Regions from separate parts of the Homo sapiens genome. Here regions 2 and 3 are each linked to region 1. Evidence: promoter capture Hi-C in human tissues and cell types (Jung and others, 2019). All regions are on one chromosome and are shown on one strand. Each heading gives the region's core, a stretch centred on a gene start or on the middle of the fragment in contact. The rest is flanking DNA. Distances are from core to core; before and after follow the strand shown.

Region 1 (2,868 bases), core at 54-2,553:
ATCCCCCGCGCTGGCTCACCGGCCACCGCGCCCAGCGCCTTCCTCCCCCTCCGGCGGGCGAGCGGGCAGGGGCGCCCGACTCCTACCTTCCTCCCGCCAGCCACCGGGGGACCAGCCGCGCTCTCCGGGGCGGGGGAGGCCGCCCGGGACGGGGACCCCCACCTTCCGCCTTCGGAAGCGGGTTGGGGCGGGGGTCGGACCCCGAGTCTCTACTCCCCGTCCCTCTGCCCCCCGGCGCGGCCCGACAGCTCCCAGCCCCATCCTGGCAGGTGGCTTGGGTGGCGGTAGATGCCGGGCGGGAGGAAGATGTGGGGCTGCTCTGGCAGGTTGGGGGTGCGAGGAGGAAAAAAAAACAGAGAAAGACACACACAGAGAGACAGGGAGAGAGCGCGCGCGAGAGAGCTCTTGTCTATAGATTTATCCACATAATATATATTTATGTAGCTTTTTTTCTCTCGACACTGATGAATGCGCGCTCGGATCCCCGGGCGGACTCCCTCCAAGCCGGCTCGCTTTTCTAGTCTAAATAAATAAATAAAGCCAGATGGAAGAAAAAAGCGCCCATTCCACCTCCGCCGCCGCCCCGCCCGCCATCCCTGCCTTTGCTTCGCCCGCCTGGCGCCCTAATAGAGCATAGCTTGGTGGATAAAGCCCCCCTACATACCCACACGAAAATAAAAATCACTATTTTTAAAATACAAAAAGTTGCACCTGCTGCTATTACAAAAAGAACCCCCAAAAGGCAAAGAGAGGAGGCCGGCTGCCCGGCTCCTCACGGACACCCGCTCCCCGCGGCCGCCGGGCCCGGAATCTCAGCGCCTCCCGAAGAGCCATGCGCCTGGCGCTATTTATAGCCGGGGGCCGTCTCGGACTGTACCATCGCCACGGCGCGGGGCCGCCGACGGGGGAGGCGCGGTGGCCGCCGCCCCACGCCGCCCTGCCCCCGGCCGCCGCCCGCCGTGGCGCGGGCCCCCACAGCGCGCCCATTCCCGGCCCCCCGCGCCCTCCTCCGCGCGCGCACACTCGCCACCCCCACCCCTGGTCTGGCTGGGAACTTGAACCGGTCCAGCCTGTTTAAACGGAAAGGACAGAGATCCTGTCTGTTCAATGTAAAAAAAAAAAAAAAAAAAAAAAAAAGAAAAAAAGAAAAAAAAAATCAGATCAGACCGAGAGAGAGAGGAGAGAGGGAGAGAGAGAGGGAGAGAGAGAGGGAGAGAGAGAGGAGAGGGAGGGAGGGAGAGAGAGAGGGGGGAGAGCAGAGAGAGAGCGCGAGCGCGAGCGAGCGAGAGAAGAGGAGAAAGAGAGAGAGCAGAGAGCGAGCGGAGAGCGAGGTGTAGAGAAACCGAGGGGGAGAGAACCCGAGTGTGTGTATGCGTGTGCGTGTGTGAGCGCGAGCGAGCGAGAGAGAGGAGCGAGAGAGTGTGAGCGAGAAAGAATAAAAGGAAAGAAGATTTTCTCTATGTATATAAAGATGGCCACGTTAGCAAACGGACAGGCTGACAACGCAAGCCTCAGTACCAACGGGCTCGGCAGCAGCCCGGGCAGTGCCGGGCACATGAACGGATTAAGCCACAGCCCGGGGAACCCGTCGACCATTCCCATGAAGGACCACGATGCCATCAAGCTGTTCATTGGGCAGATCCCCCGCAACCTGGATGAGAAGGACCTCAAGCCCCTCTTCGAGGAGTTTGGCAAAATCTACGAGCTTACGGTTCTGAAGGACAGGTTCACAGGCATGCACAAAGGTGAGTACACCTTTCCCTCCCAACTTTGCCGGGGAGCAGGAGCGGGCTGGCGGGCCGACCGGCCGGCCGGCGACTGACGAGCGGCGGACTAAGCGAGAGGAAGCCTCGGGCGGGCGCGGTGGAGGGAGGCGCTCGGGCAGCGGAGACCAGAGCTGGGGTGCGTGGGGAGCTGTTCGCTGGGGCAAGACTGGGTTTTGGGCGAGGTGCTGATAGGAACGATGCCATGGAGAGAGCAGCGGGCGCCGATGAAGAGAAAGAGAGAGGGGATCGAGGAGACGGGGCTTGGATTTTTGGGTACAGCGACCTGAAAGATGGGGATGGGGAAGGCTGCACCGGTCGAGCCCAGGACGCTGAGCGGACGGACTCGCGGGCTCCTGGCCGGCCGAGGACCGAGGGTGCTGTCCATCGCCGTGGTGCTGAAAATACTAAAGGAGGTGGTCTCCTCATCCTTTGCTCCGGGCTAGAGTAGCAGGAGCGCAGCCGTCTAAAAGGGAGAGAGGTGACAAATTCAAAGAGAAATTTTTATTTAAATGTAACAGTAAACTCTCCCTGTCGAGCTGTGTGCCTCAATAATCTGATTGTGGTGTGAATGGTGGTGTGTGTTGGGGGTGGGGGGGTTGGATGTTTGAAGGAACCAGTGATAAAACCTAAGGCAAGAATTAGCAAGGAACCAGCCATCCCCTGGGTGGAGTGGGGGGTCTGGCAAGCCTGGATAGTCCCCTTCCCAGGAAAGCGGGGCTTTGGGAAAAAAATATGTGTGTGCGAGATTTGCATTTTGAAAGGTGTACCCTAATTTATCCCAAACTCACCATGCAGAGAGCTTTATAGTACATTATTTCTCCCTTGAAGCGATCATTGCCAGTGAGTGCTTGGGGGAGGGGGAGACAGAATAATCAAAGAATTAAAACACAGCAACTTTTTAGGAAAGTGGTCATGGGAATTGTCCGCAGCCTGCCTGTTTTCTCCTTGTTTTATTATCTTTAAAGCAGAGCCCCAAACGTGTTCAGTTGTAGAATGTGTGTGGGTGGCTGGTGGGTGACGAAATTAGCCCAGTGCTCCGCTTCCTAACAGTAATATATAGGATGTGCAGCGGGAATGAATCGGTGCTGGATCTATGTGGGCA
Region 2 (2,832 bases), core at 132-2,631, 42 kb before region 1:
AACCTTTCTATAGACACAAGACTTCATAAACACATATATATATATAATTTATCCTGAGGATACAGCTCTTAATTTAAAGAACTAACCCCCCAGGGGTAGGATTACTTCTAGCCCCCTTCCGGTACCATCAGGGAGGAATGTGGGGACTTCATCCTGGTGACCATCAAAGTGCCAGGTCCGTATTCCCTACCCAAGAGCTGTCTGTGAACCGGCCAGCTATAGGGACCAAGGGCAAAAGTAACTTCCATTTGCCTTGGACCCCACACTTGCACCCAAGCGTACCCCTGCGCATGCCCAGCCTGAGGTCCCCGACACTCCAGGCCTTGGTGGGGTTGGGGCAGAGGCTATAGGACCCACAGCATCAGCACTCTCCTGCAGCAGGACTCGTTATTAATAAACACGCTGCTTCGAGCATTTGCTCACGATTGTTTGATATTTCAGTTTTCAGTAATTTTCTCAGTTAATAATTTATTAAATGGATTATTTGTCATTTCAATTTATTAAAAATTGATAAAGGGCTCATTTCTTTTTTCCCAAGCTAGGACACACGGAGAGATACACCAGCCAGAGTACAAATTAAAGACTCTCTACTCCTTTCCCTTCCCCTGTCCCTGTGAAGTCACCTGCAACCAGTGAGCACCCTCAGGTCCCTTTCCTGGTGTCTTTGCACACAGAGCCCTGCTCCCTAGTCAAATGATGAAGCAAGAGAGGCTCGCCCTCACCCCCGCCCAGCCACCTTCACCACCCAGCCCTGAATCACGGCTTTTTATCACAGCCAGACCCCCAACCACACCAAAAGCAGTGCACATCCCTTGCACTGCCCTGCTCAGCAAAGAGAACACCCTCCCAGCTCCCTCAGCCTCTGAAGACTGCACAGTCCCCATCTGAGGCGGAGCTGTATTTTAAAGAACGAGCTTGGGATCGTAGTGGGATTTCAGGCACTGTGATAAAAGTAGGAGGGAGGTGTTTACTGCAGCAACAGAACTTGCAGGGGCGCTCGAAATGGCTACCTGCTCTCTCCGTGGGCAACACCAGCCCTGTCAGCCAGCTCTCTTGTCTCTGGTGCTCTCAACAATTTCACTGTTTCTATATTCTGATCCTGGCTCTGCCTGTGTTTACAGAACAAGCATATGAAGACACTTGAGAAAAAAAAAAAAAAAAGTAAGCAGGCTGTCTCCTGATCCTTCTCCTGTTCTTCTTCCTCCCCATCCTCCTCCCTGTCCCTCCACCGTCCTCTGGCTCTGATTTGCTCCTTCTCTCTCACTCTGGACTCTCTTACCATCTTCACCACCCTTCCTGCTTCTCTCCCGTCTCCCTCTTTCCTTGGTACTTGCTCTATACTCTTTCTGCCTGACTTTCTTCTCTTTGGGCCCTTCCTCTCCCAAGGACTTGAGGTCCACAGGCTGGTAAATACCTAGATTCTCCTAGCCATGGGTGTGGCCTTTGAGGGCCTCCTTAGAGCCACAGTGGAGCTTCATCCCCAGGGCCCTGGAGTCACAGCTGTTCTGTGGTTGTTTCTAGGCTGAGAGTGAAACCCCAGGACCATCCCATGTGCCCAGGTTCCAACCTCAGGTCTCAGAGTGCCCACCCAATTGCAGCAAAAATTAAAAAAGACAGTGCTTTCTGGATCCAAGATAGTGCCAGGGAAAGTCACCCCCTCCAACTCCAAGCACTGCTAAGGGTAGGGAAAAGAGAATAAACCAGACGAACAGGTGGGAGCCTGGAGAAGCAGCAGCCCCTCAGAGTCACTTTAGCCAAGAGCATCGGTCACCACTTTGCCATTTCTGTCTGCCTTCGCAGGCTCCTTGAGACCCCATGTATCACTGTTTTCCAGAGCACTTTTCCCCAAGATGAGTTTAATGGCCTTATAAAAGTCACATTGTGCACAAATTGGGAAGTTTCTGAAGCACCGCGCCGGCTCTCATGCATATACGCTTGCGAAGTTCCCGCAGCCGGGCTGGAAAGGCAATTCAAGGCACAAAAACATCCTTGGGTAAATTACTTCCTATTAGTATGTCACATATTTCTTAGATACGACTGTAGTTCCAGGAGGTGACAGCAGCAGTTGACAATAAAACTTTGCACTCTTTTTTATTTATATTTTCTCTGCCTTTCTATTTGTTTTATTTTTTCTTTCCCCTCAAAGTTACATAACATCGCAAGGAGCTCATCATCTCATTGCTCCTAAGGAAACAATGCCCCCTGAGGCTTTTCTTGACACGCTGTATGTGGAGTTGTCCAAGAAGACATCTAACTTCAAGTACCATAGAGGAACCTCAAAATAGGCATCACAGCATTGTTTAGACAGGAGGCCTGTGACTGGGGCTCCCTTAGTCCCCAGTAGCATTCTTCCCCAATTTCTCCCCTGACCACAGCATTCTGCCTAGTGAGGAGTAATACAGAATTCTCCACTGAAGGCTGGGCGTGGTGGCTCATGCCTGTAATCCCAGCACTTTGGGAGGCTGAAGTGGGTGGATCACTTGAGGTCAGGAGTTTGAGACCAGCCTGGCCAACATGGCAAAACCCTGTCTCTGCTAAAAAAAAAATACAAAAAAATTAGCCAGGCATGGTGTTGCACACCTGTAATCCCAGCTACTTGGGAAGCTGAGGCAGGAGAATAGCTTGAACCCAAGAGGCAGAGGTTGCAGTCAGCAGAGATCATGCCACTGCATGTCAGCCTGAGTGATGGAGTAAGACTCCATCTCAAAAAGAAAAAAAAAAAAAAGAATTATCCACTGAACAGTCACTATATGCCTAGGCCAGAGCTAGATGATCTGGAAGAGGCAGGAGAAGATGGGAGTTCATGGTCTAGTTCCTAAGTCCCACACAGTG
Region 3 (2,785 bases), core at 79-2,578, 51 kb after region 1:
TGCACATGCCTACCCCAGGGCCAAGAAGGGAGCAGGGAGGAGGCCTGGTCTACCAGGGGGCAGGAAGGGATGTTGGGCTCTATGATTAGGATGATGAGAAGCCAGTAAATAATATTTTTTGCCAGAAAAAAGCAGTTTGCTATCTGAGACTGAAAAGGTCTAATACCCTAAACCCTCTGAATCCATCTACAGCCTCTCCACACCTTCACCAGACCCTCATCATCCACATTCATTCATTCATTCACTCACTCACTCACTCCACCAAAGTGCATCAAGTGCCTCCATGCACCCAGCCCAGTCTAAATGCTGGGATGCTACAATGAAGAAGGCAAGTCCTGCTTTCACCGGGATGAAGTACTCTCATCCAGCCTGGTCTCCTGCCTTTGCCCTCCACCCACTCCAGCCTTTCAGGATCTGGCCAATGTCCTCCAGCCCCTCTGCGAAGCTCCATCTGTCCTTCCCAGTCAGCACTTACTGGCTCTTCTTGGTGGAGAAATAAAAGAAGCAGGACACCATGCCCACACCCCCAGAGCTCCCCATGCCCCAGCTGGAGGGCAGCACCCTTCAGTTCACTGCTAAGGCACTGGATCCACCGCCACCCTTGATACCATCCCTCGGGTGGGTCTGTTCAGTGTCCCAGTCAAGCTGTGAGCTCCACGAGTAGGGAGGCCTGTCTCCCTCCAGCGTTACGGTCTTGATGCAACCTCCGCTAGTTAAGAAAGCAGAGTGTGACCATTGCTTTAGGCCTCTACTGGAGGATGGGCCAAGAAATGCCAGTTCCTACCACTTGTGTTCAGGAAGCCTAGGCCTGCCAAAGATAGAAGGGAGAAAGACCCTTGATAGGATGGGATCCTCAAGGAAAGCACTGGCAGAGGGTAGCCAGGCTGGGGAGAAGCTCGGGGTCAGACAACACTGCAGAGCAGCCAGGAGGGGAGAACTTGTTGCACCAGGGAGGGATGAAAAGCAAAAACAGAAAAGGGAATAAGGAAAGGCATTTAGGGAGGCAAGATGCAGTGTAATCTGAACTGCAAATCCCCCTCCTCCAGGCTCCTTAAGGCTTTTACTGTACTATAAAAACCACTGCCGAACAGCAAGCCTGCTTGATGACAAAGAGAGATAATTGGCTCTCATGCAGATTTAAGCCCAGAGTTATCAAATAATAATAGCACTCAGAAAGAGACACAGGCAAATGGGCCTGGAGAGCCCGCTTCTTCCAAAGGATGAGGATTTGTTAAAAGTATCTAAATTATGTTCCCGCAATGGAACAGGGAAATGGGGCATTTTTTTAAAAAAAGATTTTCTTTTAATGCTTGGATACATTTTTAAAAGTTCCTTTATAATTAGGGCTGTAATTTATATAATTTATTTTTAAAATATCCTTTTTTTAATTTCCACCCGGTCCAGTTAAAGTTGAACTGAAAAGCCCACAGTAAATGATTTTTTTAATAAACCCATTTAAAGGAGCCCCAACCTGAAGCAGAATAGATATGTGGATTTTCAAAGGAGAGGGGGAAAAATCATATATTGAAAAAATAAATTTCCTAACCCATTTTATACCCCAGATTTTATTATCACCGGAAGGTTTTTAAAATTCTAATTCCCTTTGCTTTTCTGAAGTTGTTTGTTTACCGCCCAGGCCTCCTTGGGCTTGGGACCGGGAGCTCAATTGGTTGGTTTCAGTCTCCTCCAATTCCTCGTGTGATTGTCTGTTCATGTGTCTGCTTTGCTCTTCAAGGGGGCTCTGAGCTCCCTGAGGTCAGATACCAGGCTCTCGGAAGAAACTCTTTTCCTTCTCATCAGCATCCAGCACAGAGCCATGCATGCAATAAGTGTTCAATAAGTGTTTGCTGGTGATGTGCCATACTATGAAGAAGTCCTAACCCATGATTTCCATGAAAGCCCTGGGCCAGAAAACAGTGTTCCTTTTGCAGGAAGCTTTGGTTCCCATTGTAATGCCCTCGTCCTAGGAGAGAGAGGGGAAGAGGGCCGTACTTTCAGCTGTTAGTCAAGGACCCCTCAGATGATGGGAGAAGTGGAGCAGATTACCTTGAACACCAGGGCCAGAGAGGATCAGAGCCTCTAGTTGTTTGAGATGGGTCAGGGTACAGGAAATGCAGAAAGAGGTACCAGGGACCCAGTGCTCTGCTGACCAGTAGACCAGAGAGATCTGTGTCTCCACATTTCTAGGGACTTGCCCTGAGCATCTGCGTTTGCTGGACTTGGTAGAGCCATCACCTCAGAAGTCACCATCCCACACCTCTGTCAGAAGGTATACACACACACACACACACACACACACACACACACACACACACGGCACCACACAGAAGGGAAGAGGGACAAAATTAGGGCCTCATGGACCCATCAGAGGACAACACAAGAGAGGTAGTTAGGACTGTAACTGCTGGAGCAAGACAAGGCATGCAGAAGTTCATGAACCCTTCAGGGAGGCTCCATAGAGGAGGGAGCACTGCGGATTGGCCTGAAAGTACAGGTTGGATAAAGATAAGCAGAAAGTGCTAGGGAGGGTATTCCAGGAGCTGGAACCAGGATGAGCATGGACAATCTGGTAGGAATGAGCAGGTGTGTCTCAGGAACAGTAAGAAGATGTTCTTGACAGAAGCTTAGTAGGTAGAGCTGGAAAGAGAAGGTTGGTGCAGACTAAAGAGGCCCTGGAGTGAGTGAAAGAATGGAGACATCAAATCCATTCCATAAGAATGGTCCACGCCCCTGCCCAGTAGCTCTCCATGCCTTTCTCTTTGGAAAGTAAAGCTCAGACCAGAGG

What was found. The method cuts DNA at HindIII sites, captures the fragments that hold promoters and counts their contacts. A contact is called where the count stands out against the background at its distance.
Region 2: a fragment that was not itself captured here is called in contact with the fragment with the promoter of CELF4 in region 1 in 3 of the 25 tissues and cell types used here (neural progenitor cells, spleen and thymus).
Region 3: a fragment that was not itself captured here is called in contact with the fragment with the promoter of CELF4 in region 1 in 2 of the 25 tissues and cell types used here (IMR-90 fibroblasts and pancreas).

The regions. Positions count from the first base shown.
Region 1 is chr18:37,564,233-37,567,100 of GRCh38, reverse strand. CELF4 (CUGBP Elav-like family member 4) reads left to right here and starts at 1,303. Exons shown (of 13, transcript NM_020180.4): 1 at 1,303-1,745. The coding sequence starts at 1,460. It overlaps LOC124904288 (a long non-coding RNA gene), which reads right to left and starts at 824. Exons shown (of 2, transcript XR_007066345.1): 1 at 712-824; 2 at 413-522. RefSeq lists an enhancer at 1,256-1,759. The HindIII fragment of the contact is 29,207 bases long and covers 1-2,868 here.
Region 2 is chr18:37,606,545-37,609,376 of GRCh38, reverse strand. No RefSeq gene overlaps it. Among named protein-coding and RNA genes, the nearest start is that of CELF4, 42 kb to the right of the region's middle. The HindIII fragment of the contact is 5,513 bases long and covers 1-2,832 here.
Region 3 is chr18:37,513,472-37,516,256 of GRCh38, reverse strand. The region is part of intron 1 of CELF4 (CUGBP Elav-like family member 4); the gene reads left to right. Among named protein-coding and RNA genes, the nearest start is that of SNORA111, 48 kb to the right of the region's middle. The HindIII fragment of the contact is 4,893 bases long and covers 1-2,785 here.